Linked DNA regions of Homo sapiens: all the other regions are linked to region 2. Evidence: promoter capture Hi-C in 16 types of primary human blood cells and fetal thymus (Javierre and others, 2016). All regions are on one chromosome and are shown on one strand. The core of a region is centred on a gene start or on the middle of the fragment in contact, and the rest is flanking DNA. Distances in the headings are between cores, read along the strand shown. Region 1 has its middle 110 kb from the start of KBTBD8. Region 2 holds the start of SUCLG2 (succinate-CoA ligase GDP-forming subunit beta). Region 3 has its middle 46 kb from the start of KBTBD8. Region 4 overlaps KBTBD8 (kelch repeat and BTB domain containing 8). Region 5 has its middle 21 kb from the start of KBTBD8.

The links. The method cuts DNA at HindIII sites, captures the fragments that hold promoters and counts their contacts. A CHiCAGO score of 5 or more calls a contact.
Region 1: a contact is called between a fragment that was not itself captured here and the fragment with the promoter of SUCLG2 in region 2, in 1 of 17 cell types (M0 macrophages). The highest score is 6.2, in M0 macrophages.
Region 3: a fragment that was not itself captured here is called in contact with the fragment with the promoter of SUCLG2 in region 2 in 1 of 17 cell types (total B cells); the score reaches 6.0 in total B cells.
Region 4: a contact is called between a fragment that was not itself captured here and the fragment with the promoter of SUCLG2 in region 2, in 1 of 17 cell types (total B cells). The highest score is 5.3, in total B cells.
Region 5: a fragment that was not itself captured here is called in contact with the fragment with the promoter of SUCLG2 in region 2 in 1 of 17 cell types (total B cells); the score reaches 6.0 in total B cells.

The regions. Positions count from the first base shown.
Region 1 is chr3:67,103,716-67,108,594 of GRCh38, forward strand. No RefSeq gene overlaps it. Among named protein-coding and RNA genes, the nearest start is that of KBTBD8, 110 kb to the left of the region's middle. The HindIII fragment of the contact is 2,164 bases long and covers 1,172-3,335 here.
Region 2 is chr3:67,653,154-67,658,204 of GRCh38, forward strand. It overlaps SUCLG2 (succinate-CoA ligase GDP-forming subunit beta), which reads right to left and starts at 1,459. Exons shown (of 11, transcript NM_003848.4): 1 at 1,350-1,459. The coding sequence starts at 1,433. It overlaps SUCLG2-DT (SUCLG2 divergent transcript), which reads left to right and starts at 1,544. Exons shown (of 7, transcript NR_109992.1): 1 at 1,544-1,949. RefSeq lists a silencer at 1,071-1,750 and an enhancer at 1,266-1,765. The HindIII fragment of the contact is 5,512 bases long and covers 1,399-5,051 here.
Region 3 is chr3:67,041,825-67,046,700 of GRCh38, forward strand. No RefSeq gene overlaps it. Among named protein-coding and RNA genes, the nearest start is that of KBTBD8, 46 kb to the left of the region's middle. The HindIII fragment of the contact is 174 bases long and covers 3,309-3,482 here.
Region 4 is chr3:67,010,918-67,016,280 of GRCh38, forward strand. KBTBD8 (kelch repeat and BTB domain containing 8) reads left to right here. Exons shown (of 4, transcript NM_032505.3): 4 at 1-293. Among named protein-coding and RNA genes, the nearest start is that of KBTBD8, 15 kb to the left of the region's middle. The HindIII fragment of the contact is 4,490 bases long and covers 1-3,881 here.
Region 5 is chr3:66,975,151-66,980,116 of GRCh38, forward strand. No RefSeq gene overlaps it. Among named protein-coding and RNA genes, the nearest start is that of KBTBD8, 21 kb to the right of the region's middle. The HindIII fragment of the contact is 1,323 bases long and covers 1,100-2,422 here.

The sequences.
Region 1 (4,879 bases), core at 1,004-3,503, 550 kb before region 2:
AAAAAGTCCTCGAAGGACTTTCAGAGACATCTGAAGCAGCCCCTCCCATCACAGGCCCAAAGGCCTAGGAGGAAAGAAGGGTTTTGTTGACCAGGCCCAGGATTCTGCAGCCCTGAGCAGCCTTGGGCACTGCTTCCTGCATTCAGGCCAATCCAGCTTTAGCCATGGCTCAAAGGGACCCAGTTATAGCTTAGGCCACAGCTCTGGAGGGCACAAGCCATAAGCCTGTGTGGTTTCCACATGGTGTCAAGCCTGCAGGCTCACAAAGTGCAAGAGTGAAGAAGCTCTGGAAGCCTCTGCCTAGATTTCACAGAATTTATGGGAAAGCCTGGGTGTCCAGGCAGAAGTCTGTTGTAGGGGTGGAGCTCTCACACAGAGCCTCTACTATGGCAGTGCAGATGGGAAATGTGGAGTTGGGGACCCATGCAGAGTCCCCACTGGGGCACTGTCTAGTAAAGCTGTGGGAAGGGGGCCACTGTCCTCCAAATCCCAGAATGGTAGAGCCACCAGCAACTTGCAACCTCAGCATGAAAAAGCCACAGGGGTAGGGTTTCCCAGGGCTTTGGGAGTCCATCCCTTGCAGCAGTGTTCCCTAGATGTGGTACATAGAGTCAAAGGAGGTTATTTTGGAGCTTCAGGATTTAATGACTGCCCTGCTGGGTTTTAGACTTGTGTGGGCCTATAGCTACTTTCTTTTGGTGTATTTCTCCTTTTTTGGAATAGGAATGTTTACCAATTCTTGTACCCCTCTTGTATCTTGGAAGTAAAAAGCTTATTTTTGATTTTGCAGGCTTGTAGGTGGAAGAGACTTGGTTTGTCTCAGATGAGACTTTGCACTTAGGACTTTTGAGTAATGCTGAAATGAGTTGAGACTTTTGGAGGACTATTGGCAGGAGATGATTGTATTTTGCAATGTGAGAAGAACATGAGATGTGTGAGGCCAGGAGCAGGATAATGAGTTTGGATTGTAATCCTCAATGTTGGAGGTGGGGCCTGGTGAGAGGTGTTTGGGTCATGAAGGTGGATTCCTTATGGCTTGGTGGTCTCCTCACTATAGTGAGTTCTCCTGAGATCTGATTATTTAAAAGTGTTTGGCACCTTCGTCCCCGACTTGCTCCTGTTCTTACCATGTGAAACATCTGGTCCCCCTTTGCCTTCTGCCATGTTTGTAAGCTTCCTGAGGCCTCCCCAGAAGCTGAGCAGATACCAGGACCATGCTTTTTATAAAAGCATGCAGAACCATGAGCCAATTAATTTTCTTTTATAAGTTACTCAGTCTCAGGTATTTCTTTATAGCAATGCAAGAATGGCCTAACACAACATATTTAACAAAGGGCTTGTATCTGTAATATACAAGAACTCTTAAAACTCAGCAATAAGAAAATAAACAAGCCAATGAAAAAATGGGCAAAAGATCTAAACAGACAACTGAGAAAGAAAGATATAAAGATGGCAAAGAAGCATATGAAAAGATGCTAAATATAATTTGCCATCACAGAAGTACAAATTAAAACAATAATAAGATACCACTACATTCCTATTAGAGTGATTAAAATCCAAAAAACTGACAACATCAATTGCCAGCAAGGATTCAGAGCAACAGGAAATTTCACCTATTGTTGCAGTGGATGCAAAATGGTATAGTCATTTTGGAAGAGGTTTTACAGTTTCTTGCAAAGCTAAAATAGGCTTACCATATGTTCCAAGACTCATGCTCCTAGGTGTTTACCCAACTGATATGAAAGCCCATGTCCACACAAAAACCAGCGTGTGAATGTTTACAACTGCCTTATTTAAAATCAACATCAACTGAAAGCAACCAAGATGTCCTTCAATAGGTAAATGGATAAATTGTGATACATTCAGACAATGGGATGTCATTCAGAAAAAATGAATGTGCTATCAAGCCACTAGACTAGGTTGTAGAGAACCGTGCATGAGGTAGAATCTGACACTTTGGAGCTGGGCTGTCCACTGGGAGAGTGACTAGCCACATGAACACTTAAAATATAGCTAGTGTGATTGAAGTACTGAATTTTCAATTTAACTTAATTTAAAATTAAATACGCACCATGTGTCTAGTGGCTGCTATCTCAGCAAGTCCAGCTTTAAAACATTAAATTCTGTTCCTCTCTCCTGCAAATGTCTCCAACCCCAGATCTAGTGCCCTTTGCTTCTCTCTCCATTCTTTGTTATAAGGATCAATTTAGACTTTCTCTCTTAGTTTTTATTTGATGCTCTGTTATGGTGGAAGGTGTGGATATGAGCTAGGAAGAGTGGGGATAAGTAGACAAGTCTACTGAATAAAGACAGCACCCTCTTTTTGTAGAGTTTCAGACACTGTTCTAAGGAATCTGCATGGGTTCCTTTATCTAATTGTCATAAAATCCTATTATAATGATTTCCATTTTATAGATGTGGTACCTGGCACACAGAGAGGTTGGCAAGGTTCACATAGCTACGAAACAGTGGAATCAAGCCAGGTTCACATTGTATACCACTGTGCTATAGTGTCTCCTAGTATGGCCCTAATTTGTGGGGCCAATGGGCTTGAAATAGCATTCACTTACTTCCAATACTACAGAGTACAGAAGCAGCAGCTTCTGGAATTTAGGTATCATGAATGATTAGTACCTTGTCCTACTCCAGGGAGTAGGACATAGAACATTGTAGGGCTGATATAGGCTGGGGAAGAGATGGCATCCATCTGCTACCAATATTTGCATTGATCATGTCATTTTTAGGTCCAGTGTCTTCAGTGGCTTCCCAGTTGTCTAGGCATCAAATGCAAACTCCTCAGCCTGCAATTTGTATCTAACTTACCTTTGTGACTTGATCTTCAACTCCTTGGGTGTTTATAGCCTCTACATGGTTTCTACTACCCACTGGTCTCTGAGCCCTTCTTGCACCAGTCTTCTTGACTTCCTAATTTGTGATTGAGGCATCTTTCCCAGTGGGATCTAGGTGGTCTAGCTCTTCACTCATGCTTCTCAACCTTTCATCTGCCTTGAAGCCTGTGTAGAATACACCAACCCAGTAACATGAAGCCCAGTGATTGCCTCCCTTCCATTCCACTGCCACTGCCCTTGCTTATGTCCACACTACCTAAACCACTGTGGTCTCCCAGCTCCTCCTTCCTGTAATCCACCTCCAAAATGCACCCAATAGCTGCTGAGTTGGTCTTCCTAGCAATGCTCAGCAACTCAAATTCTTGCTCATTTGCTTAAAACTTTCACCCTTTCCCCACCACATGATAATAATAAAGGTTTCCTACCTCTCTTAATCACTGGCCTTCTTGCGTTTTCCCAAGCATGCTGGTATGTATTTACCCCTTAAGCTTTGCATGCACTAGTCCCTCTCCCTGGGATGCCCAAGTGGTTGGTTCCCACGTAGCAGTCAGGACTATGCTCAAGTTTCATTCTCTCAGAGAAGCCTTCCATGAACAGAATACTGGATCTAGCTCTCCCTTTCTTCTCTTTTCCCCTCTTCTTTATTTTTCTTTGAAGCATTTATCATTGCTTCACATTATACGGCAGGTCCTTGAAGTATACCATTTTGTTCAATGTTTCATTACAATGTTGATGAGAAAAGTAATTGATTCTGTGAAGTCTGCATGTTCTCCCAATGTCTGTGTGAGTTTTCTATGGGTCTTCCGGTTTCCTCCCACATCCCAAGGCTGTGCATGTCAGGTTAATGGGTGTGTCTAAATGGTCCCCATCTGAATATGTGTGGGTGTGTTAGTGCACCCTACAGTGGGCTGGTGTCCTGTCTGGGGCTGGTTCGTGCCTTGAGCCACTGGGACAGACTCCAGCCACCTGAGATCCTGAACTGGAAAAACTGGATAAATCATTATCTTACTTGTTTTGAGTAATCTTTTAAAAATGTGAAGTTTTTAAAACTTTAATTCACATTAATTTCAATGTTTAATATTAAAAGGCTTTCGGGTCTTTCTTTAGAAGTCTGGCAATTTTGTGACTAGAAATATGCCAAAGGAACTTAACTCCTGTTGCTATAGGTTAGCCTAGGTAAAACTGGTTTCATTGTATGTAATTGCACTTAAAGTTACAGTTTCCAAGAATCTATCAAGGATATTAAGTGAAGACTTACTGAATATTTTTTGTTTTGTTTTTTTGTTAGTCTCCCTACTGGAATGTAATTCTGCCAAGGCCCACATGCTGTCTGTTTTATTTACTGCTATCTACAGCACCGAGAACCATGCCTAGGCCCCCAATAAACATTTGTTAAACAGATGAGAAAATGTAAAATATAAATCAGAATAGCTCTATTAATCAGACAACCTGGTTATAAGAAACAGAAATCTAGGAGGACAGTGCTTATTAATAACATTTGGAAGGGGAATGGCCTATCAGTATTGTTTCTCTAAAGTTGTATGGACCAAACTGTCTTATCAATTTGCAGTGGCAGGCTCATTCGGACAAAAAAAGATTAATACTAAATGCTGCATTCCATGTTCATTTCGTGAAGATCCACAACACACGGTAGCATCTTTAAGGTTCTGAGCCACCCTGTAATAAACAAACTAGACTTAAAAAAAACTTAAATATATATCAGCACAGAATTCTTTTTCTAAAGAGCTCCTCAGAGTAGATTCAAGTTAAGGTGGTGGCCTGACGTGAAATAATTCTATCCCACCTTCTTCTGATATAGGCATGGTATATCCTAGCACAGAGGTATGCCTCTGTGGCTCACAATTTGTCTAACAGATGGACATGTGAACTAAGCCAGGCCAATTAGAGGACATCTGAGAATTAAATGATGAATCTGAGAGACAGACTTTCCTTGCCTCGCAGGCTGTGGATCTAAGGCTATAACTTTTCCCCCCCATAAGTTATTGGGGTACAGGTAGTATTTGGTTACA
Region 2 (5,051 bases), core at 209-2,708:
TCACTGCCCTGGGCCCCATGTTTCTCATCAATTCAAGTCTACACTCATGGTAAGCACCCTAGTTCTTGTTTTTTCTAACACTTAAATAATGAATAGGACTTCATCTCCTAGAGCTATTCTCCTTACTCTATTACAACAGTTATTAGTGAGTTTTAATTAGACAAAACTGCCATTCCTTTTGCTACCTCACTATACTGTCAAGCACCTATTAAGAATATTACAGTAGTAAGTATTAGCACCTTTTAAATTTACATTAACAATAACAGAGAAATGGGGAGGCAGGAAATGAAAGGAGAGGGGTAAAAATAGCTCACAGATGTCATAACCAAAGTTTAGAGGAACTCAAAAAATCATTAATCACTATTTTTTAAATTTTCTAAAAAACTATACTATGCACATCCTGGTTAAAATTGTATGAGTGATAATTTGCCTCTCATCAATTAAAAATGGGGAAATAGGCAAGGTCATTAACTCTGCTGTGGCTGAATCCCAGACTGTGCTTTCTTTAAAAGGGAAGAGAGATAGTCTACGGAGACTAACCAGTTCAGTGGTTGAGTGATTTCTACAAGAGTCATCACCAACTCAAAACTTTCCTGAAGTCCTTCTGACTATTTTAACGCTTGCCATCTGCAGAAGGTAAAAATCTGCTAGAGGCCAAGTTCCAATCGCTATCCAGCCCACCACTGACCCTCTTTGATTTCATTCTCCATCAACAAGGAGGACATGGACAGGGTCAATGGTCTAATGCGTTTTAGTGACAGCCCTGATTTTTCATTGGAAAGAGGAGAAAGATCGTTTCCCATTTTTCTCCTTGACCCACGGATTTGACCAACTCAGGCACATTAAAAGTCTGCAAAAGCAGGTAGCCTGCAGGAAGTTCACCCTAGGGGGTGAGTTCCTAGTTGGGCTGAAACGGGTTTCCAGGCATGTTTATCACGTGGTCTAAACGTGCTCAGGGTTAGTGCCAGAAGTTTGAAAAGCAGAATTAGTAGAGCTGACAATAAAACCTCAGGGCTCCAAAACCCGGTCCAAGAAACTTTTCTTAAACTTGCGTCCAGCGCCTGCTTCAGCGCCTTCGCCATGAGTCTGCGCGGGCAGACAGCGGAGACTCTAGTGCGTTGGGTCGCTCATACCCCGAGGCACCCGGGGCTGCCGCCGCGCCGCCCCTGCCCCACACTGGAGCGGGGTTCCCTGCTGCGCCTGGACCCGGCGCCGCGTCACCTCCCGAAGTGGGGCGCCCGAGGGGCCGCGCAGGGGGTCAGGCGGAGACCAAGAGTAGCAGGGGGCGAGGGAAGCCCGGGCAGGCCGGCGCCGCTGCTGGCGCCCGCAGCTCCTGCCCCCACGCTCACCTGGGACCCGGCCGCCAGGAAGCGGGGCCGCAGCGCTAGGGCTCGCAGAAGCTTCCCGGCCTGCGCTGCTACGGGGGACGCCATCTTAAACAGGAAACTCGGCACGGGGCAGTAGGGCGGGCGCGGGCAGGGGAAGGAGGCGGAGGAGGAGCAGCGGGAGGAGGGGTCAGAGGAGAAGCGGGCGCGGGGAGGAAAAGGAGGAGGAGGCAGAGGCGGTCTGGGCCGGGCCGGGCCTGACCCCTGCGTCCCGGGGGCACAGGCGTTCTTAAGGCTGCAGAGCCCTGGGTCCCCCACCCGGCCCCGGTTCACTTTGAGCGGTCCCAAGGCCTGAGGGCCTACTGTCCAGTCCCCAGGTTATCGTCCTGAGCAAAGACAGACCCCGAGCCCTGCGGTCTTGGGGCTCAAACAGTCCCTGGATGGCCAAACAAGCAAATATTCGCCATGGCAGTGGGTGCTGGAAGGGTGGCTCACGGAGCTGACGCCCTCCGCAGAGAACCGTGGTCTAGTCCTGCGGTCACGAGGCCTATCTGGGACAGTGGTGTTTGAGCTGAGACTTTAACGAATAGAGACAGGTGAGGTTCCTGCAGCCCAGGGCTTCAGGTGAGTCAAGGAGAGGCCATTGGAGGCTCTCCATCCCTTAAGGAGTTGTGGGTGTTTTGTTTTGTTCTATCCTTAACCTAAAATCAATGTAAAGCTGAGAGATGAAGCCGGGTGGGTCGGTTGGGGACTTGGAGAACTTCTCTGTCTAGCTAAATGATTGTAAATGCACCAATCAGCGCTCTGTGTCTAGCTAAAGGTTTGTAAATACACCAGCCAGCCCTCTGTGTCTAGCTAATCAGGTGGGGACTTGGAGAACTTTTCTGTTAGCTAAAGGATTGTAAATGCACCAATCAGTGCTCTGTGTCTGGCTAAAGGTTTGTAAACACACCAATCGGCACTCTGTAAAAACGCACCAATCAGCGCTCTGTGTCTAGCTAAACGTTTGTAAATGCACCAATCAGCACTCTTTAAAAAGGGACCAATCAGCACTCTGTAAAATGGACCAATTGGCACTCTGTAAAATGGACCAATCAGCAGGATGAGGGTGGGGCCAAATAAGGGAATAAAAGCTGGACACCGGCGCCAGTAGTGGCCCCTAGTTGGGGTCTCCTTCCAGGTTGTGGTTGCTTTGTGCTTTTGCTTTTTGCAGTAGCTCTTGCTGCTGTTCACTGTTTGGGTCCGCACTATCCTTATGAGCTATAACACTCACCACAAAGGTTTGCAGTTTCACTCCTGAGGTCAGGGAGACTGCGAACCCACTGGGAGGAATGAACAACTCCGTATGCCCCACCTTCGAGGGCTGTAACACTCACTGCAAAGGTCTGCAGCTTCATTCGTGAAGTCAGCGAGACCACGAACCCACAGGCAGGAACAAACAACTCCGGACGGGCCACCTTTAAGAGCTGTAACACTCACTGTGAAGTCTGCGGCTTCACTCCTGAAGTCAGCGAGACCACGAACCCACCGGAAGGAAGAAACCCCAGATACATTTGAACATCTGCAGGAACAAATTCTGGTCACGCCATCTTTACCGCGAGGGTCTGCAGTTTCATTCTGGAAGTCAGCGAGACGATTAAGAACCCACGGGAAGGAACCAATTCCGGACACAAAGCTATTGGAGGATTTTAAGCCCAGTAATCAGAGTGATAAAAGCAACATTCATTTGGAGCTGTGAACCCCAAATACCTGACACAGGTCTCAATCAATTTAAGAAGTTTATTTGGCCACAGTTAAGGACACGTGCCTGTGACACAGCCTCAGGAGGTCCTGACATGTGCCCAAGGTGTGGTGGAGGACACAGCTTGGTTTTATACATTTTAGGGAGATATGAGACATCAATATATGTAAAATGTACATTGGTTTGGTCCAGAAAAGCGAGACAACTGGAAGCAAGGAGGGGCTTCTAGGTTATGGGTAGATAAGACACAAAGGGTTGCATTCTTTTGGGTTTCTGATTGGCCTTTCCAAAGGAAGCAATCAGCTGTGCGTCTATCTCTGTGAGCAGAGGGATGACTTTGAATAGAATGGGAGGCAGGTTTGCCCTAAGCAGTTCCCACCTTAACTTTTCCCTTTACCTTAGTGATTTGGGAGTCCCAAGATTATTTCCCTTTCACAGAGTTTACGCGAGTCTAAGCAATGTGCATATAATAAAAACAACAGCAAAGTTACTGAATGTGTGCCAAGCATTAGACAAATATAAACTTGTTTAGTCTTCATAGCAAAGTTTTAAATGAGTAGAAGTGTACAATCCCCATTTTGCAGAAGAGAAAACTGAGGTGCACAGAGGTTAAGTAACTTGCCAGAGGTGGCAGGTCTGATAAGAGATGAGATTCACATCCCTTCCACCCACCCCCAAATTAAGCACTATTTTAGATTTTTTTTTTTAACCTTACTCATTCTTGAGCATATGATCATGAAAAAAGGTACAATGTGACATAAGTAGACAGCTGTTGCTACTAGCTTCTTTCCTAATCTCTCTCTTTGGAAAGTGGGGGAGCTGAGGATTTTTATTTTAATATAATTTCTAGCCCATTTCGAGACATAGTTTTACCCACTAGATGTAGCATCTTTTGATGATAAGGATGATGATGATTGTTTAAATCAATTATTGTCACGATGGTGGCAAAGTGGCAAGGTCTAACTCCATCCTACATTTATTAGTCTGTATTCTACTCAGAAAAACTGCACTCTTTCCATCATCTCCATTGATGAAAGAAAAACTTCAGCTAAATTAAATGTAAAGGAGTTTAATTGAGCAATGAACGGTTCGCCAATCGGGCAGCTCCCAGAATCACAGTGGATTCACAGAGACTCCAGCGCAGCCACGTGGTGGAAGAAGATTTATAGAGGAAAAAAGGGAAATGACTTACAGAAATCAGAAGTGAGGTACAGAACAGCTGGATTGGTTACAGCTTGGCATTTGCCTTACACAGTTTGAACACTCAGCAATGTATAAATGGTTAAAATATGGCCACTGGGATTGCCAAGACTTAGCTGTTGTTTTAGGTCCATACTTCTAAGTTAGGTTTTCAATCTTGTCTACCTATTAAGCTAGGTTGCAGTTCGTCCACAAGGACTCAAATATAGAAGTACCGAGTCCTCCTTAGGCCATATTTAGTTCACTGTAACACTATTCGTCGGTGAATTGTTTTATTCACTTGTATCACTGTGGACTCATGGATTCTTTTTTATTAAATGGCAAACCGATGCTCTTTCCTGATACATACACTCTGCTGCCTCTGTTTTCAGTCATTTAATCTTCACAGGAGCCCTGCAAATGGGGTCCTACTATTATTCCCATTTTGCCAGAGAGAAACTTGGCCACAGAGTTCCACATGACATTTACATGACTCTAAGGTCAAGTAACTTGCCAAGGGTGACACAGCTTGGGATCAAATTTCCCAAAGCTGGACTCCAATCACTCTTAGCACCCTCCTCTTGACAAAACTGGATTTGAGTTTCCATATTGTTCATCATTACCCCTACTGGGTCCGCCGGGATAGAGCAAAGACTTGCTAATGTTTGAGAGTGAACGTTTAAACTTGGTGAGAGCTTGTGAACATTTTGCCAAAAGGAGGAAGACCACCTATAGAATTAATCAAAGGCTGTTTATTCAGACGTTACTATGCTAAGGGAGTTGGCTACTATCACTTTCCTTCCAAA
Region 3 (4,876 bases), core at 2,146-4,645, 610 kb before region 2:
TGGGTAGCCTCTGTATTGATTACGAAGGGGACGGACTTACCTTCCACTGTAAGAGTTACTGAAAGTGTCTGTGATGGTCCAGGAGGCTTCCGAGGTGATGGGGCAGCATCAGCCTTCAGCCACTAAGCCGAGAAGATCTGGGAAGGAGTCAGTCAGAGAGCCTTGGGCCAGAGTTCCAGGAGCTCTGGTAGTGGCTGCAGGGTGAGTTGGACAGTCCGATTTCCAGTGGGGTCCTGCACAGATGGGACATGGCTTAGGAAGAATCCCAGGCTGTGGGCATTCCTTGGCCCAATGGCCAGATTTCCAGCACTGAAGTAAGATCCTGGGGGAGGAGGTCCTGAAGGAATGCTTGACCACTGTGGTTTAGGCATTTTGAAGTTCTTGTGTGCTGGAGATGTGGCTGGGGTTTTTCTCACAGTGGAGGCAAGGAATTGCAACTCAGAAATATGTTGCTACTTGGCTGCCTCTACTCTATTATTGTACACCTTGAAAGAGAGGTTAATTAAATCCTGTTGTGGGGTTTGAGGGCCAGAATCTAATTTTTGGAGCTTTATTTAATGTCGGGAGTGGATTGGGTAATAAAATGCGTATTGAAAATAAAACAGCCTTCTGACCCTTCAGGGTCTAGGGTTGTAAAGCATCTCAGGGTTGCTGCCAAATGAGCCATGAACTGGGCTGGGTTTTTATATTTAATGAAAAAGAGCCTAAACGCTAACTGATTTGGGAGAGGTTGGATAAAGAAAAAGAAGCATTAACCTTGACTATGCCTTTAGCTCCAGCCACCTCTTTAAGAGGAAATTGTTGGGCAGGTTGGGAAGGGCTAGTTGCAGAATGAAACTGTAAGCCAGACCAGGTGTGAGAAGTGGAGGTGATAGAAGGATTATAGGGTGGGGGAGCGGAGGCAGAGGAAGAATTGGAGCCTGATTCAGCCTGGCAGGGAGTCACCTGAGGAGGAGCAGTCTGGGGAGGAGGGGAGAAGTCAGATGGGTCGGTAGAAAAGGAAGATTGAAAAGACTCAGCGATGCTTGGGGTTGGGACTGAGGGGACAGGCGGGAGGGAAAGAAGGAGGTTTTGGGATCATTCGCATTGGGAACAGAGACTAGGGAGGGACTGATGTGTAAAAGAATGCCTGGACGTCAGGCACCTCAGACCATTTGCCCATTTTACGACAAGAATTATCTAGATCTTGTAGGATGGAAAAATCGAAAGTGCCATTTTCTGGCTATTTGGAACCATTGTGGAGTTTGTATTGGGGTTAAGCGGCATTGCAGAAGAAAATAAGTCATTTAGGTTTTAGGTCAGATGTGAGTTGAGGAGGTTTTAAGTTCTTGAGAACACAGGCTAAGGGAGAAGAAGGAGGAATGGAGGGTGGAAGGTTGCCTATAGTGAAGGAGGCAAGCCCAGAGAAAAGAGAGGGTAGAGATGTGGAGAGAAGGGGTGGGGGGTTCTTGCCCCCCATGAAAGTGGTGCTTGCCACTAAGGGTGAAGGATCAAGGGAGGTGTCCCCGCGGTGATCAGACACCTCTGAAACGTGGGTGAATAATCAAGCATGCGTCCCCGCAGTGATTAATGACCAAGGGAAGACTGTCTTCCCGAGTCTGTGACCGGTGCCACTTTTGGGTTCACGGATAAAACGCATCTCCTCTGTCTCTACCAGAGAAGGAAAAGAACTGAAATTAAGAGAACGGAGAGATTGAAGGATGGCACCAAGATTGAAAGGAGAAAGAGATTGAGGGATAGTGAGAGAGGTTGGAGAAGAGAGTAAAAAGAGGCTGCTTACCTGATTTAAAATTGGTGAGATGTTACTTGGGCTGGTTGGTCTGAGAACGAGAGATTGTAGGTGGATCTTTCTCATGGAGCAAAGACCAGGAGGACAGGGGATTGATCTCCCAAGGGAGGTCCCCTGATCCGAGTCATAGCACCAAATGTCATGCACGTCCGTGTGAAGAGACTATCAAACAGGCTTTGTGTGAGCAATAAAGCTTTTTAATCACCTGGGTGCAGGCAGGCTGAGTCCGAAAAGAGAGTCAGCAAAGGGAGATAGGGGTGGGGCCATTTTATAGGATTTGGGTCGGTAGTGGAAAATTACAGTCAAAGGGGGTTTTTCTCTTGCAGGCAGGGGCGGGGGTCACAAGGTGCTCAGTGGGGGAGCTTCTGGGCCAGGAGAAGGAATTTCACAAGATTAATCGCTCAGTTAAGGTGGCGCAGAAACAAATCACAATGGTGGAATGTCATCAGTTAAGGCAGGAACCGGCCATTTTCACTTCTTTTGTGATTCTTCACTTGCTTCAGGCCTTCTGGGTATATATGTGCAGGTCACAGGGGATACGATGGCTTAGCTTGGGCTCAGAGGCCTGACAGTATACAGATGCAGAAACTTTGGAAGTGTACATAAGAAACCAGTAATAGTGCTTATTTGTTCAGAGGCTGGGAAAGTGAGTACAGATGGTCACAGGTGAGAATAAGATTTTTCTCTGAATCCCTTTTTATATTATTTTATTTTGTACTACTGATTCAAAAACTTACCCCCAAAATAAGATCTGGCAAATACCTTGCCTTTTCTAGGCAGCTCTAATTCATTCCATCAATTCTTGTTTTATTAAGTCATCATAGGGACTATGTGCCAAGCACAGAATTCTTTTCTGGCATCAGAATTGTACAATATTGACTTAAAAGTAATTGACCTAGAATACAGTACCACATGGTGCCAAAATACAAAAGGGTCTGTGTAATACTCAGTTCGAGAAAGGTAAGGTCCTTTTGGGTTTTGGGCCTCTCTGGCTCTCATAGCCACTTCAGAACAGTGAGTTATAACCTTGTAACTTTCTGAATCCATCTACCAGGCTATAAAACTCCAGGGATCTGGTGAGCCAGGCTACTTGGGGCCAGGAATTGGGCGAGTCAATCCATGACTAGGATACAGAGTTAGCAAATAAGGGATTGGCCAGGATTCCCACTCTGAATTTCTTTCTCTCTTCCCCTGGCCTCAATGATCTACCCTGACCACTTACCTCTATAGACCCCTATGAGTGCTGACATTGTGTAAGGGTCAAAAGAGAGAAATAGGGAGGAAGTCAGACTGAGAGGGAGAAAATTGGCATTTGCAGGTTCTACATACATGAGTGGTATTTTTAATTAATGAGATTTTTGGAGACACTTTCATTAAAACCATTTTTATATTTTTAGGCTTAAATTTTTTGAAAAGTTAAATTCTAGGCAAAGAGGCCCAGATCCTTTCAAATAGGGCAAGTTGTGGCTGAAGACCAATTACCTGCATGCAGAGGGCAGAAGACGGAAGGGAGCAGGCAAGCTTGGAATAAATGAGATTCCATTCCAATTAAATGAGGAGTCTCAGAAGCACCTCCCACAAGCTAGAATTACTGTGATGCCTGTTGATGTTTTAATCTCTTCTTTTCTGTCGGGTGAGAGGCATATAAAGAATCAGAGAAATAAGGAAGGCCAGTCACTTGAGAAACCACATAAGCTTTTTTTTTTTCTTTATAATTTTTAAGCATAAAGAGGCTGACTGAAATTGAGATGCGATTACTATACAAATGGCCTGAGAAGAACAAAGGCAACGGTGGTTTTGACAACTGACCATGGTGGATAAGATTTTAATTATTTAAAGAAATCCTAGAAAATCTTAAAAAAGAATCAGATGGAAAGAGAATCACTCAAGCTTTGAAAGGAAACCTAAGGTTAAAATTAACAAGGCACATTAAGAGCTGAAGATGAGTTAGAATAATACCCGATTTTACCTGGTATTTACCCTAGGTTTTCCTCTAAAATTGAGCATCTTGTTTAAAGAGAGTATTTCTTCATATTTCTAGATTTTTTTGTTTAATAGAGAATTCTACCTTGGAGGAAGCCTGAGTAGAAAATTTTGTTAAATTTGGTGACTGACTTAATCATGCCTTTGGGAAGACTAGCTATTCAGACCTTGCAGCTATAACTTAGACATCCTTCTGAAAAGGATGACAGCATCTGCCCCCAAAATAAAGAATTCAAATAGTGGGCAGAGTATCGGGAGAAACTTAGAGGCCACTGAAGTGTTAGCATAAACATGCAAATCTGCAAAATAACCTTGGTATTTTGCCAAGATTATTTTGCAGATTTGCATGTTTGCAAGCAACAGATATATACCATTTTGTATCTGTTGCTCAGAGGACAGCACTAAAATTGGCTCTTTAGGCAGATGCAGCTTTCAAAACAAGAATTAGATTTTAGGTCTTCAGAGTCTCAAAAACAAGAAAGGCAAACAAAACTTAGAGATGATTGTTGAAATATATTTAATATTTTACTTTTGCAACTTGAAAGCTAGTGACTTTTTTTTTTTTCTTTGAGATGGAGTCTCCCTCTGTCGCCCAGGCTGGGGTGCAGTGGCACAATCTCAGCTCACTGCAACCTCCACCTCCTGGGTTCAGATGATTTTCCTGCCTTAACCTCTTGAGTAGCCGGGGTTACAGGTGTGCACCACCATGCCTGACTAATTCTTGTATTTTTAGTAGAGATGGGGTTATACCATGTGGGCTAGGCTGGTCTCAAACTCCTGACCTCAGGTGATCCACCTGTCTTGGCCTCCCAAAGTGCTGGGATTACATGCGTGAACCACCGTGCTTGGCCAAAAGCTAGTGATTTTTATCTTTGCATTATTTTAATAAAGTAATTTTCAAAAGTTTTAAATGACATTGGAGCTCAGTTTGCAAGTTTATCTTCTATAGAATCTTACATACATAAACCAAAAACTAGAAATTTATTAGTTTTAACCTGTAAATTCACATTTATTACAGTTTTTACTTAAAAATAGACTGTTGACAAGCTGATAATTTGAAAACAGAAGCTGTCATTATAATAGTAGTTATGACAGTTGTAGTCC
Region 4 (5,363 bases), core at 387-2,886, 640 kb before region 2:
TGTATTCTTTATTTTCCATCTTTGTTTTCTGTTCTACAAAGTTGATGCTTAAGCATCAAGCTGATTTTATTGGTCATGAGAACAAATGGATGTGATCATGAAGGAATCAGATTCCCTATGTAAAGCAGTTTAAAATGGAATTCAATGTTCAGTGCTCAGGTATGTAGTAAGTACTGTAGTCCTGTGGGGGCAAATGTGTAGATATTTTTAAACATTTTGCCATAATTGCACAATTTTTTGCATTTTTACCTGATGTCATTGTTTCTTATAATAAAACCTTTTCTGATTGAAAACTTCCAGTGTTGCAAAGTGATATCTGACTAGTGAGTGTTGCAGAATTAAAATCTGGTAAAAAATCATGAAATACCTTATGTCATGATAGAATGGAATGAGATTTTAATCTATTGAATACCTGTCCTCTGGTAAAAAATGAACTACTTTATGTATATAATACTTTTTAAATTCTAAAGCAAGTTAGTTCACTTATATTGGTAAATTCTTTGTTCTGTTTGTTCTGGCCTAAAATCTTGTTATGTTTGACTCTTTTGTGTTGGTCCACTTTGCATTACCGTAAAGGAATACCTGAGATTGAGGCCTCAGGAGGCTTTAGCTCATGGCAGAGGGTGAAGCGGGAGCAGGAAAGAGAGGGAGCCAGAGAAAGTTGGGGGAGGTTCCTGTCTCTTTAACAATGGGATCTCACATGCGCTCATTACCATAGGGAGGGCACCAAGCCATTGATGAAGAATCCACCCCCATGATCCAAATACCTTCCACTAGGCCCCACTTCTTCCAACACTGGGGATCACATTTCGACATGAGATTTGGAGGGGACAAATGCCCACACTATATAATCTCTTACGTATTTCATGTTTAATTCATCAGAAAGTCCCGTTGCTTCTTCCTTCATAATACATCCAGACTCAGACCACATACCATTTGCACCACTGTCACCCTAGTCTAAGCCAGCTTATCTTATCTGACTTAATGCAGTTTCCACTGACTGGTCTTCCTTCTATCACCCTTGACCCCTCATAACCTATTCTTTTCTCCACACAGTACTCAGAGTGATCCTCTTAAAACACAAGTCAGATCATGTTTCTCTTCTGCTCAGATCCTTCCAATGGCTTCCCATCTCCCTTCATATGACAGCCAAACTCCATACTTACATGATCCACCCCTCTCAAACTTGTTGCCATTTACTTGGCTTGCTCTATTTTAGCCACACTGACCTTGCTTGTTGCTCAAACCTGCTGAGCACCTCCACAGCGACTTTGCCCTTGCTGTCTCTTTTGCTGGATAGATCTTGACAACTCACTCACTTTCTTTTTTATTAAAACATCACCTTACTGGAGAGGCCTTCTCTGATCACATTTTGTAAAATAAGATCATCCAACCCCACCCCCATCATACCTCCTGCTTTATTTTTCTGCTTTATTTTCCATATGTGTCTTCCCCCATTGAAATGTACACTCCACAAAGGCAACGAATTTATTTTAATTCACTGTTGCACTTTAGATTGATGCCTAGCACATAGTAGGCACTCAATGAATGCTTGTGGGAAGAAATGAATTTTCAGTTAAGTCTTGGAGCCTAAAGGATTACCAATTTTATTGGTCTTTTCAAAAAAAAAAAAAACCAGGTTTAGTTCTAATGAATTTTCTCTATTGTTTTGTGTTTTCGGTTTCATTGATTTCTGTTCTAATTTTTATAGTTTTTTTTCTTCTGGTTGCTTTAAGTATTAATAACTCATCTTTCTATTTCTTTTCTTTTTTTTGAGACAGGGCCTTACTCTGCCCAGGCTGGAGTGCAGTGACGCAATCTTGGCTCACTGCAGTCACCTCCACGGCTCAAGAGATCCTCCCACCTCAGCCTCCTGAGTAGCTGGGACTACAGGCGCACGCCACTGTGACCAGCTAATTTTCATTTTTTTTTTTTTTTTTTTTTTTTTTTTTTGTTAATACGGGGTTTCACCATGTTGCCCAAGCTGATCTCAAACTCCTGGGCTCAAGTGTTCTGCCTGCCTCAGTCTTCCAAAGTGCTGGGATTATAGGCATGAGCCACTGTGACTGGCCTTCTTTTCCTAATATATGCATTTAATGCTATAAATTTTCCTTTAAGTATTTCTTTTGTAGAATCCCACAAATTTTATTTAGTATTTTCATTTTCTTAGTACAAAATATTTTTATCATGTCTTCTTGGGGAATATACCCTTTCATAATTATGTAATTGCTTCTCTTTATCCTTGATAATCTTTTTTCTGAAGTCTTCTCTGTTTGAAATTAACATAGCCACTCAAGTTTTCTTTTAATTACTGTTTGCTTCATTTATCTTTCTCCATCCCTTCTCTTTTAACCTATCCTAATCTTTATACTTAAAAGGGCTTTCTTGTAGACAACTTACAGTTGGGACTTATTTTAATATCCATTGTGAGAATACTGGTATGTTTAGACCAGCATTGCATTTAAAGTGAGTACTGATATAGTTGGGTTAATATTTAACATATTGGTTATTGTTTTCTATTTGTTGCCCTTCTTCTTTGTTTCTTTTTTTCACCTATTTTCCTGCTTTCTCTGGTTTTGACTGAGCATTTTATATAGGATTCTATTTTATCTCCTCTTAGCACTTCAATTATACTTTAATTTTTTTTTCAGTGGTTGCATTAGACTTACAATATACATTTCAAAACTAATCTAAGTCCACCTTTAAATAACACTATACTGCTTCGTGTGTAGTGTAGGTATCTTAGAACAAAGTTCCCAATTTTCCCCTCTGATCCCTCATGACATTGCTGTCATTCATTTTAGTTATCCATATGCTATAACCATGCAATACATTGTTATGATTAAAGTCATACTTTTAGATCAATTGATATTTAAAAAATAAGATATTTTACTTCATCTTCACTTATTCCTTCAGTATTCATTTATTTAGGCAGATCTAAGTTTCTGTTCTGTTTCAATTTTCTTCTGCCCAAATAACTTCTTTTATTGGGCATTGCTTGCAAGACAGATCTGCAGGTCATGAATTCCTTCAGATTTTTGTTTGAAAAAGTCTTTATTTCTCATGTTTCAAGGATAATTTTGCTGGATCTAGAATGCTAGGTTAGTGGGTGTTTTGCTTCAACTTTGTAAAGTGAGTAGCTTCTAATTAAATATCAGTGGTTTGGTGGGCCTGTGTCTTGGGGCTGTGATCTTCACAGGTGTTTCTCTAGTGGTACAGCTTTTGGTTTTCCCCTCTCCATCCTCTTTCTGGCTGTGCCATTCCCAATTTTATTTCTTTGAAGCCCTGACCCATGTTGATTAAATCCTTTTTCCTTTAGGTGAGAAGAGAAGGTTAGAGAGGTTTGGGATGGGAGGAATGCTCTTCCCCCTGCTTTTGTTGAACTCTGCCAAAATGTTTTTCCGTGGAGAGTATGCTTTTTAAATGGAAAAGGTTCTGGGTGTATTTCATGATCATTACTCTTCCTGTCCCCTAGTCAGAGCCACTAGGAGGTTTGTCTCAGATCTTTGCCATGAGAACCTGGTAGAGTGCCTGTTGGTAAAATCCACAGAAGCGTAGGGGCCCCAAAAGACTGAAGTTCCCAGGAGTTTTCCACTTTCATGGGAGTCCATGTTCAGCCTCAGCGATTCATCAAAAATGACCATTTAAGTGTTCTTACAGTTTACGGCTCTGGTTACTTCTGGTCAAGGTTAGCAGATCTGGACTGTGACTCTGAATTCACCTCTAATCCAGGGTAACATTTGCCCTGCAGCCTAATTTCTCTGATGGATCTAATAAAAGTCATTGATTGTCAGTTTGAATACCTTTTTCTTCCAAGGTTAGGAATGACAACATCCAGGATCTTTACATTTTCAGTGCTAAATGTGGAATCCCCTATAATAAGCTTCTAATACATATTTTTGATTGAATGATTCTTCAGTTATGCATAAATATCTTATGCCATCTTTTATATGTATAATGTTTTTTAACAATTAAAAAATAAGCTAAAAAGTCTCACTTTTAAAAACCTATATACTTAATCATATTTAGGTATCTTTTATTTATAATTTATACGGCCATGGGATTATTTGACATGTAGTTCAGTGAATGTTGACTCTTGAGTACCTAATAATCCATATTTCTTGCACCAAATTAAAATTATATAAGTTAAAAAAATCAATCATTTTAAGACTTTTTTTCCCAGGCTACTAAAACTAAATAGAAAATTACAATGTAATAATTTTAAATTATCCTTATCATGGATAGACAGAACATTTTCTATTGGCTAGTTTTTTAGAAATGAGATTTAATAGATCCTTTTTCTCCTTTCTTTCCTCTTCCATAAGGATATGCACAATTATATGATTTGGTGAATCAAACACTATAATATTAAGTAAAACGTGGAATATATTTTCTAAATATTTTATATTGGTCTGGTCAACATGAATTATAGTGTTTTCCGTGACCGCAGGTAGATTACTTACCTTTTCTAGCTTTACTTTTTCATGCATAAAACAGGTTAATAATCTACCACGTTATCGAGTTTTTTTGAGGATCAAATAAGCATGTGAAACACTTATCACAGTGCCTTATCACAGCACATAATGAACACTTCCTAAATATTAATTTGTTGAAATTATTAACGACTATTCTGCAGTCTTTTAGATATACTTAACCATTGTAGAACAATATTCCTTAATAGCTAATATAAAGTATATATTAAAGTGTAGCCATTTGGACTCTGATTGTGCTCATAAGCCATGCATGAAAACAATTTTTACAGTTTTACAGTCACACAGTTCTCACTTTCATTTCTGGACTGTGCATTTCTAAAGGACTGAAATTAAACCAATGGTATTTAAAATAATTTAAACAAGGCTTGTAACCTCTGTCTGCAAAATAAAAATAATGCTTTTTGGCTTGTCTATTTTTACAAACTGACAAGGGCCTGTCCTTAGAGTTTATCTTGTTCTCTGTTCCCATTCAGAGATAAGGACCTGTCCTAGTCAGTTCAGGCTGCCATAACAAATTGCCATAGGCTGCATGGCTTAAATAACAAACATCTATTTCTCCCAGTCCCGGAGTCTGGAAGTTTAAGATCAAGGTGCTGGCAGATCCTGTGTCTGGTGAGGGCCCTCTTCTCATCGCATCCTCTCATGGTGAAGAGCAGAGAAAGAGAAAGATAAAGCAAGCTCTCTAGTGTCTTTTTATAAAGGTACTAATCCCAGATCCCTCATGACCTAACCACCCGCAACGGCCCTACCTCCTAATACCATCACATTGGGGGTTAGGATTCCAGCACATGAATTTGGCGGAATTGGCAGAAACATTCAGTTCACAGCAGGATTTAACAGAGTTGCGGTCACATAGTTCAGTTCTTGAAA
Region 5 (4,966 bases), core at 511-3,010, 680 kb before region 2:
CAAATATACAAACTATATCACTATGCTTCAAGAATTGTGGCTCAACAGACAAGGGTCTTGAAGGCCATGTGAGGGGGTTGAGGCTGTATTTGTAGGCAATAGGAAGCTCTTGAAAGTTTTTGAGGTGAGGAGTGACTATTCAGAAGTGTGTTTCAGGCAATCAGCCTACAAAACAAAGGTTTTGTCTCTCATCCTTGCCCAATAAGTCTCTTCTGCATTGTTCCTTCCACAGTCCTTGGTTTATATCTGCCCTCTCTGTTTATCACACTGTATCTGTGTTAAAAATATATGTGAGTGTCCTCATCATCTTACAATATAATCTCCTCAATGTCAAGATTGGGTCTTCACCATCTTATCTCCATTATGTCTTATATAAGCTCAATATGTATTGAATTAAGTTGAAAGCTTGTGATTCTATACAATACAATATTAATTGACATTTACAATTCATCTCGGTTCAAAATTGAACATCAGGTGTCAGTGTGTCTAGTAATTATTCTTCTGATGACATGGAAAGTCAATCTTTAAAATATTGATTGGGAAATCTACACACAAAATAATCCTCTGTAAATGTAAGAAAGTGTTCTTCTCTTTTCCATGAACATTTCTAATTGAAAAAACTGTTCTTACCCACTCAATTGACCAGTAAATGCTTTGTAGTATGATGTTCTCTTCCCTTTCTGGGCCTGAGATACAGGTTCCCATGGAACCTCGACTGTACCTGTATCTCAGGTAAAGGAGAGCAATTGGTAGAGTTTCCATGCAGGGTTCCAGTTGGCCTAAGGTCATTTTTGAATGCTTACGGGAAAAGTTTGTTTTAGGCACTGATATGGTTTGGATCAGTATGCCAACCAAATCTCATGTTGAATTATAATCCCCAATGTTGGAGATGGGGCCTGGAGGGAGGTGATTCGATCATGGATGCGTTTTTCATGAATGGTTTAGCACCCTCCACGTGGTGCTGTTCTCATAATAGTGACTGAGTTCTCGTGAGATCTGGCTGTTAAAAAGTGTGTTGCACCGCCCATTGGCTCTCCCTCTTGATCCTGCTGCAGCCATGTGACTTGCCTGCTTCTCGTCACCTTCCACCATGATTGTAAGCTTCCTGAGGCTGAGCAGATGCCAGCACCATGCTTCCTATCCAGCCTGCAGAACCATGAGCCAATTAAACCTCTTTTCATTATACGTTACCCAGTCTCAGGTATTTCTTTATAGCAACGTGTGAATGAACTTATACAGGCACTGTCAAGTCAATGAATCAAGTAAAAAGCATTTACACACAGACCCTAACTTATAATGGTTTGGCTTACAATTTTTTGACTTTACAACGGTGTAAAAGTCAGCAACATTATGTATAAACTATACTTTGTGTACCCACACAACCATTCTGACTTTTTACATCATTGCTGTAGTCAATAAATTATATGAGATATTCAATATTTTATTATAAAATTGGCTTTGTCTTAGATGATTTTGCCCAACTGTAGGCTACTGTAAGGGTTCTGAGCATGTTTAAGGTAAGCTATGCTATGCTATGATGTTCAGTAGGTTAGGTGTATTTAATGCATTTTTGATTTACAATATTTTTTTTGATGGGTTTGTCAGGACGTAACCCCATCATAAGTCAAGGAGCATGTATATTTATTTCTATATGTACAGGATTGTGGAAGAAGCCAGGATATATTAATCTGTGAGATAACATAGCATGGTGGGTTTTTTGGTTTGCTTTTGTTGTTTTGCTTGTTTGTTTGTTTTATTTGAGATAGGGTCTAGCTTTGTTGCTCAGGATGGAGTGCAGTGGTGCAATTATGGATTGCTTCAGCCTCAGACTCCTGGGCTCAAGTAATTCTCCTGCCTCAGCCTCCCAAATAGCTGGAACTATAAGTGTGTGCCACCACACCTGGCTAATTTTAAAAAAAATTATACAGACAGGGTCTTTCTATGTTGCCCAGGCTGGCCTTGAACTCCTGGCCTCAAGCAATCCTCCTGTCTTGGTCTCCCAAAATGCCGGGATTACAGGTGTGAGCTACCACACTGGGCCTAGCATGGTGGTTTTAAAGCAAGGATTGTAAGGCCAAAATGACTAGAGTTCAAATTCCAGCTCTGGATTTCACTTTCTTATCTTTGATAAGATATTAACCTCTCTTAGCCTCAGTTTCTTTACGTGCAAAATGGAGGAAAAACAGTACCTTCCTCATAGGATTGTTATAAGAATAAAATGAGATAATGTATGTAAACTCCTAACACTGTGAACACATTTTATGCAAGAAGTATGTTCCTAAAGCCCTTAGATACTCTAAGACTGACCCAGGCAAAGGATGAAATATGTTTCATTTACTGGCTAAAGACAGACTTCCTTGTAGACAGTTCACTGATTCAATCACTCATTCATTCACATAGTTTATAAACACTTAGCTAACCAAGCTTTGAAATTACATGATTCTTGACAAATTTTGGATTCCTGGCTGGGTTTGCTTGGGTTCCTGGGAAGCAGATACTACGTAGAGATGAGCATTCAAGAGGCTTAAGGGCTGGGCACGTGGCTCACTCCTGTAATCTTCGCACTTTGGGAGGAAGAGGCTGGTGGATCACTTGAGGTCAGGAATTTGAGACGAGCCTGGCCAACATGGTGAAACCCTGTCTCTACTAAAAATACAAAAAATTAGCTGGGTGTGGTGGCGTGCACCTGTAATCCCAGCTACTTGGGAGGATGAAGCAGGAGAATCACCTGAACCCGGGAGGCAGAGGTTGCAGTGAGCAGAGATTGCCCCACTGCACTCCAGCCTGGGTGACTGAGTGAGATTCCCTCTTTAAAAAAAAAAAAAAAAAAAAAGCTTATTAAGGAGTGGTGTTGGGATATTTACAGGTAGGGAAAAGGATGCAGTTAAAACAAAGGCTCCAGTCAACCCTGAAGGATGCTCTGAAGCTGAGATATCTCTTTTAGGATGTCCAATGTTAAGGCAAAGGCACTGGGTTTTCATACCCATTTTGACCAGTTCTTCCAGTTCTTGAAGGGAAGGAGGTATGGTCTGCAGCAGGGCAGCTCTCTTCAGCTGATGCAAAATCTGGAGAGACACTGACCTGAGATCAGTCAGCCCATTTTACTCCCAGCAAGTGGGTAAATAAGGCCTGAAGGAGGGCATCTTAGCAGAATGATACCCTGTCTACTGCAAGCCAGGTTGTTGTGACTTCAGATGTACATAAAGTGAAACTTTATATTTTATTGTTACATAATTTCAAAATGATAGACTTTGCCACCTCCCTGGGTATGTGCCCTATTACTATTGTCATGCTGCCCTAGACAATGAATTTCCCATTTATTTAATGGTGCCTCCTTCTTAGTAATTTGGTAAGGATTACAAGTTACGTAATGTATAGAAGGTGCTTTACGAAGATCCTGGCATGCAGCAAACGTCTGGCACGTGTTAGCTGTTTTTATTAAGAGAAGGTCTATGAATACAGAAGGACTCAGTAATAAATGAAGGAAAGGAAACTATGTTAGGATTTAAAAATTTGCAGACTGATTTAAAGCACTGGCAAAGTTTACATTATGGTATTTGACTAGTGGGTGTCTCGGTCTAGTTTTATGTCAACATTAATTGAAGGTTTGGGTTTTGGCACCTGGTGGGAAGCCTAGGCGAGACTGTGAACATTCTTCTCTCCCTCTTATTACAAGGGAATTTAAGAATCTTAGAATTACACTCTGTCCATTTGGGGAATAAAAACGTAAACAATCATAGCAAAAAAAGGACAGAGACCAACCAAGATGTAATAAAGGATTCAAATATGAGACACAGGAAATTTATCCCCCAACTAGGTCCTCATCCCTACACATGTAAAAATATTCATTATTTCACTCAAATTCTTATGAGTTCTTGTAGACAGATACTATATTTCTCTAAATGATTTTTTTTTTTGAGACATAGTCTTACTCTGTCACCCAGGCTGGAGTTCAGTGGTGCGATCTCGGCTCACTGCAACCTCCGCCTCCTGGGTTCAAGCGATTCTCCTGCTTCAGCCTCCTGAGTAGCTGGGATTACAGGCACACACCACCATGCCTGGCTAATTTTTGTATTATTAGTAGAGACGAGGTTTCATCATGTTGGCTAGGCTGGTCTCAAACTCCTGACCTCAAGTGATCCGCCTGCCTCGGCCTTCCAAATTGCTGGGATTACAGGCATGAACCACTGCGCCCGGCCTCTCTAACTGCTTTTTAATGTGCTAAACATAGTATGAGCACAATGAATAAAGTGATAATATTCCTTTTGGCTGTCTTAGGTGAAAGGTGATTTTAACACACACACACAGACACACACACACACACACACACACACACACATTTATATACCTATTTGTAAAGGTAGATTCAAAACAAAGGCTTCCTTAACAGTGTCCTGCTCCTACCCCTTCCTCATCCCCAATAGGATTCAGATGTTTATTTTCAGATGAGGAACTATGTCCTACTCTGATTTTGTTTCGTTTTTATTAATACCTCTACAAGTACTTAGCACAGTGTCTGGAATGCAGTGAGCGCTCAATAAATATGTGCTGAATAAATGACTGAATAAAGTTGAGAGCTGGAAAGGAGGTTAGAGATTATACTGCCCTCATTCTAGAACAGTATTCAGAGAGATTGAAGTATATGTGGGAAGTTGCAGAGCTCTGAGTCAGAGTAAGGATCCAAGTCTCCGAACTCTCCCGCAAGGACCCTTCCCACCAAAGGAGCCCTGCCAACTGCTGCACTTTAAGGACCCAGGCAAATGTGCTCAGAGCATTGCATGGCAGTCATTCCTTCCCAAAAAGTTTGTTCTCCTAAAGACATTTGTTTCTCCAAGCCTGGAAGTAAAACAGAGCACTTAGAACCCATAAAATAATGTTAATGTGGCCTACTCTTCTCCACATTTTTTTCCTTTCATGTCTTTGTGAAACTTCCTTTTATTTGTAGGACGTATAGCATTTCTTCAGT